Regions from separate parts of the Homo sapiens genome. Here regions 1 and 2 are each linked to region 3. Evidence: promoter capture Hi-C in 16 types of primary human blood cells and fetal thymus (Javierre and others, 2016). All regions are on one chromosome and are shown on one strand. Each heading gives the region's core, a stretch centred on a gene start or on the middle of the fragment in contact. The rest is flanking DNA. Distances are from core to core; before and after follow the strand shown. Region 1 overlaps ADSL (adenylosuccinate lyase). Region 2 holds the start of TNRC6B (trinucleotide repeat containing adaptor 6B). Region 3 holds the start of ATF4 (activating transcription factor 4).

What was found. The method cuts DNA at HindIII sites, captures the fragments that hold promoters and counts their contacts. A CHiCAGO score of 5 or more calls a contact.
Region 1: a fragment that was not itself captured here is called in contact with the fragment with the promoter of ATF4 in region 3 in 1 of 17 cell types (naive CD4 T cells); the score reaches 5.8 in naive CD4 T cells.
Region 2: a contact is called between a fragment that was not itself captured here and the fragment with the promoter of ATF4 in region 3, in 1 of 17 cell types (fetal thymus). The highest score is 5.9, in fetal thymus.

Annotation. Positions count from the first base shown.
Region 1 is chr22:40,359,265-40,362,854 of GRCh38, reverse strand. It overlaps ADSL (adenylosuccinate lyase), which reads right to left. Exons shown (of 13, transcript NM_000026.4): 6 at 3,549-3,590; 7 at 2,363-2,453; 8 at 1,513-1,582; 9 at 1,220-1,367. Among named protein-coding and RNA genes, the nearest start is that of SGSM3, 9.5 kb to the left of the region's middle. The HindIII fragment of the contact is 1,683 bases long and covers 990-2,672 here.
Region 2 is chr22:40,177,381-40,181,514 of GRCh38, reverse strand. TNRC6B (trinucleotide repeat containing adaptor 6B) reads right to left here and starts at 3,590. Exons shown (of 23, transcript NM_001162501.2): 1 at 3,375-3,590. The coding sequence starts at 3,379. RefSeq lists an enhancer at 3,702-3,751. The HindIII fragment of the contact is 973 bases long and covers 781-1,753 here.
Region 3 is chr22:39,519,140-39,523,276 of GRCh38, reverse strand. It overlaps ATF4 (activating transcription factor 4), which reads right to left and starts at 2,715. Exons shown (of 3, transcript NM_182810.3): 1 at 2,526-2,715; 2 at 1,606-1,923; 3 at 594-1,504. The coding sequence starts at 1,831. The coding sequence ends at 675. RefSeq lists enhancers at 1-231, 308-357, 2,238-2,287, 2,648-2,797 and a silencer at 3,178-3,377. The HindIII fragment of the contact is 5,669 bases long and covers 1-4,137 here.

The DNA.
Region 1 (3,590 bases), core at 582-3,081, 840 kb before region 3:
CCAATAACCTCACGACCCTCAAATCTGTCACCTCTAGGCCAGACCACTTGCTCAAGTGCCAGACCTCATACCTACTGAGTGAGACGTCCACCTGGTTGATCTATGGGTACCTCAATCCCCAAACTGAACTCAGCCACTTTCTCATTCCTCCTACTCACCATTACATACCTGCCATTCCTCCCTTGTAGCTCCTGCCTCAGTAAATGGCAGTAGCGCCCCACTCACCAAGCTCTTTATACTCACTCCGGTCAACCACCAGGGCTGGGCTGGCCAGTCTGCCTTCGACTCTGGATCTATATCCTTCCTCTCCATTTACATGGCCACTGCACCAATGTGGCCTCAGACTTTTAAAGTAGCCCCTAACTTGTTCTGACATGATCCCTGTCTCCTTACAGCCAACTCTCCAAACTGTTGCTAGGGTCTTTTAGCAGGCAAATCAGCAGACCTACAGGGTCACACCTTGCTAAAAAGTATTCAATGGCTGACTTCTGAATGAGTTCACATGACTTATTTCCAGAGATAAATCGTGGATTATGCACAGATCCCAGAAAGCTAGGTTTAACTATACATCCGTATCCACTCAAGAAATTCCAGCAAAATGCGAGCAGGCGAGAGTAATGCCAATCTGCTTTAAGTGAGTATATACATAAAACAGAAAATGATGCGCATGTTGGCACCTCAACAGTAGTTACAAATTATTTCTGACTCATCTCATAACTAATCAAGATGTCATTGTGCCTAGACACCACAACTGACATCTATCTGCCTTCAGAAAAGACCCAGAAGACCTTTCATAAACTGGCTATCTGTGACCATGTCCTGCCCCACCTCCTGGCACATGTTGACTTCATTCCCCAGGGCTACTCAAGTAGTAGTAACTCCCTCAAGTGTGTTTTCTCCTGCTTTGTGCCTTTATAATGCTCCCGATCTTGTCTTTAAAAGATGCATGTATTTCTTAAGTCTTAAGGCATCACCTCTACTGTGAAGCTTTCTGACTCCTCAAACACTATTCCTTCCTCTTTGCTCCACAGTACCCAGTACACACTCCAATTGTAACACTTATCACACTGTCCTTTTTATGTTTTTGCCTCCCTGCTAGACTCTGGGATCCTTGGGGATAAGGAGACTGTAGAGATGCTCAAATATGTCCTTTTACTTCTAGGTCCCTCCTTCAGACCTCCACTCAACTTGGTGTATGTGATGTCCCTGTGCCACTGACCGGTTGGCACTATCATCCAGTGTGCGTTCAAACCACTGGACAGATGCTGTCTGTAGCGGGTCCATGACAAGGGTCATCAGGTGGCGGGCAAGACTGCAGCAACGTTCTGAACGCATGGGATTCCGCTTATATGGCATCGCACTTGAGCCTGCCCATGTAAAAAAAGGACAAGATGCAAAGGCAGAGAGACTTCAGAGGATAGTGAGTAGGCAAGCATGCTGAATGAGCTCTCAGCCCCCATCCACAGCCTTCCAGCAGCAATGTGTGCTCACAGGTCTCTACACAGCACTCACCAATCTGCTGTTTTTCAAAGGGTTCCTCCATCTCCTTGAGGTTTGCCAGGAGGCGTATGTCGGTGCAAATCTGGGGGAGGTAGGGGAATAAGCATCACCCCACACTGTCAGTGTGCAGTAGAGTCTGGGAGCTGTGACTAGGCTGATGAAGGAGATGAGCTCTTAGGTGTGCTGTGGCTGAGCTGAAGACCAGCGCATCCTCCCAAAGAGCTCCTGCAGAGTATCTTACTCCGACTCCTCTCTGTTCCCGAAGGACTGGGATGACAAATTCAAGGAGCATGAAAACGCTTTTGTGAAACACTGCTTAAGGCATCATGGAAAGAAAATCACAAGATTAATTCAGGATGGGCGCGGTGGCTCACACCTGTAATCCCAGCATTTTGGGAGGCTGAGGTGGGTGGATCACCTGAGGTCAGGAGTTCGAGACCAGCCTGGCCAACATGGTGAAACCCTGCCTCTACTAAAATTAGCCAGACATTGTGGTGCATGCCTGTAATCCCAGCTACTTGGGAGGCTCGCTCGAACCCAGGAGGTGGAGGTTGCAGTGAGCCGAGATCATACCATTGCACTCCAGCCTGGGCAACAAGAGCGAAACTCCATCTCGAAAAAAAAAAAAGATTAATTTAATATACCACTGAACAAGATGGATGTTTTGCAGTGCTTGAGATAACTTTAAAGAAAATGCCAAAACGAGTCTTCCCCTTAAGGGTTTCATTTACAGACCACAAATTATTAAAACTAATGTAAAATATTGCTTGAGAGAGATGGTTAAGTAAAAGTCTGAGGTTAATTCAGTCTGTCTGTGGTGCCCAAAGCTCCTGTCCCCACCCCACATGCTGCCACCACTCACCTTGTGCACTGATGCCCCCAAGCTAGCCAGCACAGACAGTACTTCAATATCCACTTTTCGTGTATATGTCTGCCCTGTGATGATGAAAGCTCTAGGAATAAGTACAAGAGAGACTTAGGTTAAAATATTTTAAAGCCATTGCAGTGGTGCATGACTGTAGTCCCAGCTACTTAGGAGGCTAACGGAGGAGGACTGCTTTAACTCAGGAGGTTAAGGCCAGCCTAAGCATCACTGGGAGACTCTTATAAAATAATAATAATTCAAAACATGACTCTGTCAAACAAGGAAAAACACATCCTAAAGAAAAGCTTGGTCTTATTGGTATGCTAAGTTATACTCAACCAGTGGACCTGAGTGGTAACTTGCTCCTGGAATAAACTATTCTTCCACCCTTTTCACTAATACTCAGGACAATGGCCTGACTCAAGAAGGATACATGGTGCAACGTGCCCATGTCTGGCCACAGCCCAATAGAAATGCCTGGGAGAAGGAGCCATGGTGGAACCTGGTGGACCTCAATGGAAATGGTCAGATTTAGCCTAACCTGTTGGGGGCCCTAAGTAAAGAAACAAAAATGGTAACAACATGGATAAAGGTATTCTAAAGAAACCAGAAGTAAATCATTTTCTTTTTTCCTATAGATTATACAAAAAGAGAATGCAGGTCAGGCATGGTGGCTCATGCCTATAATCCTAGCACTTTGAGGCTGAGGCAGGTGGATCGCTTGATCTCAGGAGTTGGAGACCAGCCTGGGCAACATGGTCTCTACAAAACAATACAAAAATTATACAAAAACAATACAAAAATTAGCCAGGCATGCCTGTAGTCACAGGGGGCTTAGGTGGAAGGACTGCTTGAAACTGGGAGGCGGAGGCTGCCGTGAGCCGAGATCACACCGCTGCACTCCAGCCTGGGTGACAGAGTAAGACCCTGTCTCAAAAACAATAATAAAATAAAATGAAATCCAGAAAATATGTCAGCAAGACGATTAGGCGAAAAAAAAAAAAAAAAAAAAAGAATCCAGATAGTAAGAAAGTAAAACCCAGGATAGAGACAGGAAAAAAAAAAATGGGTAGAAGAACAAAGGAAGAAAAAGGCAAAAATTGTAAGGTCAAATCTGCAGGTATACTGAATATAGGACTTCCATCAACTTAACAGGGAGGCCAACACATTCCCATTTACCTACCTCTTAAATCCTGCCTTTTCTGTCACCATCTTGTCAAGCTGC
Region 2 (4,134 bases), core at 18-2,517, 660 kb before region 3:
TTGAGGAAAGGGACAAAGTACATTCATCTATCTGCATTGCCTCAGGGCTGTGTCCAGCTTAAACTGCAGATGATCAATGATTATATGATCTGAGTTATAAAAATTAAAATCTTTCCAAACTTTTCAGTCATGGAGCAGCTGGGTAGGGTGAGGAGCAGCTGGGTAGGGTGAGGACCACCCTTATTCCTCAGGGTGGTCCTCAATAGCCAGAGCTGCTCAGCCTGCTCTGCAGAACCTGAAGGTCTCATCATCGCATAACACTCTTCTAGTGTCTCTTGTAGAGCTGAAGAGCTGGAGAAGCCTTAGAAGTCTCTGCTTCAATGTTCGGAAGTTTATTTTTAAAGGACCATCCGAGTGGCCACACAGAATAACAAATGGCCATTCACAGCTGAAGAACAGAGCTGAGTTTGCACCATATATCAAAGATGCCAAAGCTTCCTTTCTGGGAACCAGATGGAATGACTGAAAAGCACTTTAAAATTGAGATACCACTTCTGATGAACGCTACCAATTTTTGTGATCTTTCAGTCATGAACCTGTGACATTTTTTTCTGAGACAGAGTAATGTTGTGATATTATCACTAGTTGATCCAGCATTAGGAAATATAGATTGGTGGGGGGGGTGGCAGTTAATAGGGATTATATTCACTTTCTCCAATAAGAAACTTCCTCTGCATATGCCATCTCATTTTTAAAAAGTAAAACTACAACGTGCAAGTTCCAGCACCCCTGGATATTGCTCTTCATAACATCGGCCACATCTTTAAAGTTTTTAAAGCTTCAATTCACAGTACTCACAGAAAGAAAACTTCAACAGAAGGCACAAATTAAATACTATCCATCTGCACACTTAATTGATTACTCATTTTCATTTCCTTCTGGATGACCATCGTGTTGGTGAGCCAGAAGGATTGGCTCTGCAGGATCTGAGATCCAAAATGGCAGTCGAGCTATCAACTCACCAGAGCCATAATGCTTCCCATACGTGAAGCCAGGTCTTATTTATCTCACCTTTTAATTATCCAGGGGAAAAGAATATTTATAAAAAACATTTCAAAGAATCAAATGGCATTCATTGTATCATTCTCTGTTCTGCCTAAGACAGCAGGTACCCTGCTCTGGTTCCTCCTCTCTGCAAACTGAATTAACCTGCCATTCATATGTTTACACAGCCACAAAAACAAGATAATGGCAAAACATGGAAAGCCTAGGTTTTATCTCCTCTTCAGTAAGACCAACTTTAGGAAATAGGTGTAAAATGAATCATATAACAAGCAAAGCCCCAAAAAAGTGCTTTCATTTTCAGAAAAACAGCAACAAAAATCAGAGCTGATTTTCCTTTAGGTCTACCACAATGCAACATTCTCTATCACTAAGGTAATTTCTCTATCTTTTCCCTTTAAATTCAAGCCGTAAAAAAATTTAGAGACAACTTTGTTCCAGACTACCTCTTTAATGTAATGTTTCCAATCCTTCTTACACAAAAGCTGAATTTATATCATCAAAAAATTTACAGTGAATCTAAACAGTCACTTCTGTATTTATTACCATTACTAACATAACAACATTAATTTTTTAAAATAATAAAATCCTTGCTTGTTAGAGACAGAGGGCTTTAATTATCTTATGTATTCAAATGGAAAGTCTTTTTGTTAAATTAGCGTGAAAGTCCCTTCATCTACACACAATTGGCCCAAAGAAACAGGCCATTTTCAGCACAAGAGGCCAATCCATTTTAAGAGTGAATAAAGCTTTTGAAAGCACCACACACCCTCTTCCAGACTGTCAAATTTTCAAAATGGTCCAGCATTTTTTCCACTTTATCTTTTTTAACACTTTCAGGCCCAGTAAGCATCTCATAATTAGATTAATTAAAAAGGAAACAACAAAAAACACTGCTCCCTTCTGATCAAAATTATTCCATTTATGCTTAATTAGCTTTAATCCACGTCTACATATTTAATGATGGGGATATGACAATTCAACCCATTTGCATATTTTAAATGCCTTTTCTAAACTATACTTTGTAACAGATTTAGAAGAACAGTCTCTTTCTCATGCCAATATGCCACAGCATAAATCAGGAGGATACAAATTAGGAAAAAAAGAGAAAAGAAAACAAGGCCTCTCAGAGCCAGGGATGTGCTCAGGGGGGTGGAGTAATTTACCCAGGGGTGGGGGCAATTTACCCGCCACATCACAAACTACAATCCTTTCAGCCCACCAGACCGAGAAGCATTACATCACACTCTCACAATGATAGGGGGAGGAGGCTCTGAGAAAGCAAGTTTTCAGCTTTCTTTCCTCCCTGCTCTCAGGCTTCCAGAATCCTGCATTAGGAGTAATGGAATTTAACTTCAGGCACTGCACAGCTTCAGGGGTTACTAACAATCACATAGACTGCTACTTATACATGTGACCCTAAATGACCACTTCGCAGTGGATACATGGCCGAAACAGGCAACCACACACTCACACGATGAATTTATGCTGAAAAACTCAGTTTTGCATCTGTGTAAAATTAAACAAAAATTTTATTTCGTGAGGAATGAAGAAGGCTAATACACAGGGAGAACTGATAAAGAAATAATTTCTAATCGCGGTGAATAGCTGTTCATATCTTTAAAACACCATGTTTACAACATAGTCCTACCCTTTGGTTGAATCCAGGATCAAAATAAAAGCGCATCTGGCTGCACATTTGAGAACACACACAGAGACCCAGTGCAAATGAGCGCGCGCAGAAAGGAGAGGGGTGAGCCACATATTGCTTGGGAGGTTTTCAAGCAGGGGAATCTACAAACCCCAAACCTCCTGGTGTTCACCCGCCCCCAACCTGATGTTTAAAATGTATTAGGTCTTACTTTAGGTTTTACATCTCTCTAGGAAGGAGGGCCCAGTTTAAAAAATAAAAAGATAGAAAAAGGCTTTCCCGTTCTAGGGCTTGCCCTCCCAGATCCTTTGTCGGCCTTAGCAGCCGAAAGAATGCAAACCCATTTATATTTATGCAAATTTTTGCAGCAGATTTAAGGGGGGAGGGGGAGGTCTGTGTTTTTTAAAAACCTCTTTCTAAATAGCAAATTTCCAATTACTCGCAGCTTCATTTATTGCAAGATAGAAACGATGATGAAAATCTGCATATACATTAAAAGTGCAATTAAATCACTTCAAAATCTAAATATTTTACCACGTCTTTTCCATTTCTAAAATGCCGAACCAAAGTACATCACGGGTCTGATTTACACAGATCCACGAAATGTCTGAAGCCAGTCTCCATGCTAGACAAATGTCGATTTGCAACACCACCAGTGAAAACGGTTAGACAAGATCCATATAAATCAATTGGTTAAAAAAAATTGAAAATATTTACCAACCTCATAAAGTGCAGCAGTGCTTAAATCCAGCAAATTGAGGCATACAAGGTAGAAATGGAAATGAAAAAAGGTCCAAAAAATGAATTCTTTTTGTCTATCTGTTTTTTTGTATTTTAAATATTCAGAAACCAGCAGAGACTCTGTCGGCCATTTTGGCTTGAACTAACTCTCTCTCACACACTCTCCCTCTTGCTCTCTCTCTCCCTCTCTGTCTCTAAAGGAAGCAGCTTTTTGTGACCTTCAAATAGAGGCAGATCATGTGACTTCGGGTAGGTTTGTCAATCAGGAAAGGGGAGGGAGCTGGAGCTGAGACTGCCTTAAAGGGGAAGCAGCCCTTTTCCACTCACTTTCATTTGTGAAATGCTGTTATCTCATACTCTCCGCCTACAGACACTGCATGTGAAAGTGGCAACAGCATAAGGGTAACAGATGAACAAAACAGAAAAACCTTTATTGGTTTATAGAAATATGCTCAGTTGCTAACGATTCTTACAGCTCCTGGATCTTCTCCTGGCTCGCTTGCTAGTTATTCTCTAGATGTTTGGGCAAGCACAGGCTGGCAAACTGCTCTGTAAAAGGGGCTGAAACACAGCTCTACCAAACAAGAGGCTTTAGCTTTGAAAGAATGAGGTGAAATACAGGGCACGACTGATCTCTAAGAAACTCCTAAAATGTATAGAAAAAGACTGAAAGAAACGCACAAAAGTATAAACTGAACTGCAATTCAGAAAGGTTAAGTGACTTATCCCAAATCACACAG
Region 3 (4,137 bases), core at 1,466-3,965:
GGAACTGTTGCCTGCCTTTGTGCCCAGCTCTAGCCAGAACCTGCGCAGGCTGTCATCCTTCCACCCCGTAAGGAGAAACGGAGGCCAACCCTCAGCTCCTGTCCTGTTTCAGCATCAATTCCCAAAAGGAGCCATTTCTTTCTTCAGGATGAGGCTTCTGCAGAACTGTTCAGGTAACAAGTGAAACCTAATCTTGTGTGCTATCTCAAAGACCGTGCAACCTTATTCAGGGTTTTATGCGACAGCTGTTGGCATGAAGCCCTCTTGAATAAACAGGTGGAGGCCCAGGCTGTCCCTCCCTCTGAATCTCCCAGAGATCTCCAGCCTCCTCCCCCTACACAACCAGCACTCAGCTCTGGGCAAAGGACCCAGCTTACTATAAATGGCCAACTATACGGCTCCAGGGCCCCATGAATCAGCCATCGTGGCCTACACCGAGCAGGGATGAGCAAATCCCACTCTGGGAACCGATCTTCAGCCTTGGACTGCCTCCTCCCCCAGATCTCACAGGAAATGTTAAGACCAGCTTGGGGTGGGTGGGTGGCGCTTCACTCGGTTACTTTGCCAGGAAAGGAATTCAAACGCACAAGTACTTTCCCTACAAAATAATTTATTGGAACACACAGCTACAGCACTCTATGTACAAGCACATTGACGCTCCTGACTATCCTCAACTAGGGGACCCTTTTCTTCCCCCTTGCCTTGCGGACCTCTTCTATCAAATCTTTCAGGTACTGGATCTCCTTGGCCAGGGAATCCGCCCTCTCTTTTAGAGCCTCGTTCTTCTTTTCCAGCTCTTTGCACTCACCAGTAAGAGCCTCCTGCTCCGCCCTCTTCTTCTGGCGGTACCTAGTGGCTGCTGTCTTGTTTTGCTCCATTTTTTTCAGCTTCTTATCCAGTTTCTCACCCTTTACTTTTGCTGCTACCATCTTCTCTCCAGGAGGATCGTAAGGTTTGGGACGGGCAGACCCACAGAGAACACCTGGAGATGGGAGGCTCCTATTTGGAGAGCCCCTGGTAGAGGGGCTGTGCTGAGGAGACCCCAGATAGGACTCTGGGCTCATACAGATGCCACTATCATTATCTGAAGGGGTGTCTTCCTCCTTTATGCACTGAGGGATCATGGCAACGTAAGCAGTGTAGTCTGGCTTCCTATCTCCTTCAGTGATATCCACTTCACTGCCCAGCTCTAAACTAAAGGAATGATCTGGAGTGGAGGACAGGACCCCTGGGGAAAGGGGAAGAGGTTGTAAGAAGGTGAAGGGGGCAACCTGGTCGGGTTTTGTTAAACTTTCTGGGAGATGGCCAATTGGGTTCACCGTCTGGGGGGGCTGCTTATTAGTCTCCTGGACTAGGGGGGCAAAGAGATCACAAGTGTCATCCAACGTGGTCAGAAGGTCATCTGGCATGGTTTCCAGGTCATCTATACCCAACAGGGCATCCAAGTCGAACTCCTTCAAATCCATTTTCTCCAACATCCAATCTGTCCCGGAGAAGGCATCCTCTGCAAAACATTTGAGTGATGGGGCCAAGTGAGTCAGATACAAAGGTAGGAGGCCCCTAACCCTAGATCCCACCAGGACGATGTGGTGGTGGCCCACTCACCCTTGCTGTTGTTGGAGGGACTGACCAACCCATCCACAGCCAGCCATTCGGAGGAGCCCGCCTTAGCCTTGTCGCTGGAGAACCCATGAGGTTTGAAGTGCTTGGCCACCTCCAGGTAATCATCTAAGAGACCTAGGCTTTCTTCAGCCCCCAAACCCGACTGGTCGAAGGGGGACATCAAGTCCCCCACCAACACCTCGCTGCTCAGGAAGCTCATTTCGGTCATGTTGCGGTGCTTTGCTGGAATCGAGGAATGTGCTTAATTCGAAGGTGTCTTTGTCGGTTACAGCAACGCTGCTGCTGAATGCCGTGAGAAGCCTGAATGAGAATCAGAAGCCAACTCCCATTAGAGGTTAGCTGTTCTGAGAATTTCATCCTTCCACTTATGAGGCGGGACTTCTCTAGATCGGCCATCTAGAGAATCGGGAACAGGGCAGTTGTATTTGCCCCTCCCTGCTTGCAACTCAGGTTCCACAAAATGGACGCTCACGGAGACCAGGGGATTCTTCCACCGGCCGCCAAGAGGAAAGCGCTCCGTCCCCACGTCCAAATACGGCCAGGGCGGCCGCGCCCCGCCCACCGCCCGCCCTTGACTCACGCCCGCGCCGCCGCCCTGCCGCCGCCATCTTGGTTCCTGCCACGTTTCGTGGGGCAACAGCCAAGACCCCTGGGACCCTTGCGGGGCTCGGGGTCCGAGGGCTGTAGGGCTCCTGGGGAAGCAGTCCGGGCACCCGACTACGCTTTCCCGATCCCAGGCACGCGAGCGTCTCGGGGACACCCAAGCAAAGACCACGCGTCCCGGGCGCTCGTTAAATCGCTTCCCCCTTGGCGGCACCGCCCTGGCCCCAGGCCGCACCCCACCAATCCAAAACCCGCGCCGGCCCCAGGAGCACAGCTGGACGACCCGCCCCGGTACTCACGCCATGGCTTAAGCCGCTGGGGGTTGCCGCTGCAGAGCCTGGTGCTGCTGCCGCCGCTGCAAAGGCCAATGCTGCCGCAGGCACTGCTGCCCCTAATACGCCATGGTGGCCGTGGACCCTGAGGGCGGGGAGGAGGGAAAACGCACACGCGCAGAGAAAACTACATCTGTGGGCGGGCAAAGTAGAAATGGCTGCCGTGGCCGCCCGCCGGCCCTTTATAGACTTCGTCTCTATGGGGACGCAGCACAGACGCATCCTTCCGCCGCGACCACGTGACCGTCTCCTCCCGCCCGCTCCCTTCCCTCCCTCCCTTTGACGCCCCAACCGTTTATGCCCAGGGCGTAGCTGTGACGAGAAAAGGAGTTTGTTCTTATGGCCTCACGAAAGGAGAGAGGTGTACTACTTTACTAGGCTTCTATGATCAGAGTCCGTTCTTTCCTTCGCCGCCGGAGCGCGGAGTGATCTCCCAGACACGCCTCGCTTCCGGTGTCAGCGCAGTGGGCGGGGAAAGGTCGTTTTCCGGCGAAGAGTTTTTATTGTGAAGGCCGAGGACGCCAGGTTATCGCGCGAGGTGCTGGCGAAGAGCGCGCGTCAAGGTGATTGGCCCAGGCCCGGTGAATCATATATATCTCGAGCTCTTATTGGCTCAGGGCCCTAGATGGGCGGCTGCTGGGAGAGGGATCCCGGGGTCCGCGTGGGAAGGGTTGGGGTCTCGGGTCGCTGCTAGTCCTCAGCCAGCCCCGCCTGCTGGCCCGCCACGATCGCGCTGGCTCCTGCCCCCAGGCGGCCTTAGCCCAGCGCACCCCTTAGTGGCCTCAGGGACCAGCCCTTGCGGTCGGATCCCGCCGCCCTCAGTGGAGGTCCGCACTGGTGGCCCCGCCGCCGCTCCCAGCCTGCGCGTCCTTCGGTTGCGGGTGGTGATTTGTGGCCTGCGGAAACCGGGGGGTTACCTGTTCCAAGCCTGAGTTTTCCAGAGGCCCCATTCATAGCCGACACGGCGCTGCTGCCCCCGGGAGGTTGAAGGGGCCTCGAGAGGGCGCGCCGGGCCTGTCCACCTACCCCCAAAGGCCGGCTGAGTCTGCATGGCTCCTCCTAAACTCTGGAAAGGAGCCGGGAAGACGCGCCGTCCTGTCGCCCAACCTGGGTTTTTACAATTTTCATCCGGCTCAAGTGCAAGGCTGCCACAGAATAGCATCATAGAGGAACTTCTGGTGTCCGAAGATTGCGTTCTCCTAAGAACAAGATTTTCTTCGCTGCCGTCTCCCTGGGGTAGTTCGGATTCACTCCGGATTCTGAACTCCCCGGCCTAACCCGCTTTTCAGCAGTCACGCCCATGGCCCAGGGAGGAGAGGCGCTTGGGAACCCACGGCCACTTACTGGGGGTTGTGCGTTGGGAAGGGGTAGTCTGTTTTAAGAATACAAGAAACCTCCCCATCATCCTTCAGCCCCTTCCAGTCAGGCCCTGTGAAGGTGGAAACTTTGAGTTTCCGCCTCCATTTCACTGGGCCACACAAGTATGAGCGCTGTGATATCAAACAACCAGGGAAGCACTGCTCTAAATAACCACAGGCCATCTGCTGCGCTCATTCAACCTCGCCCACAAATCCTTTCC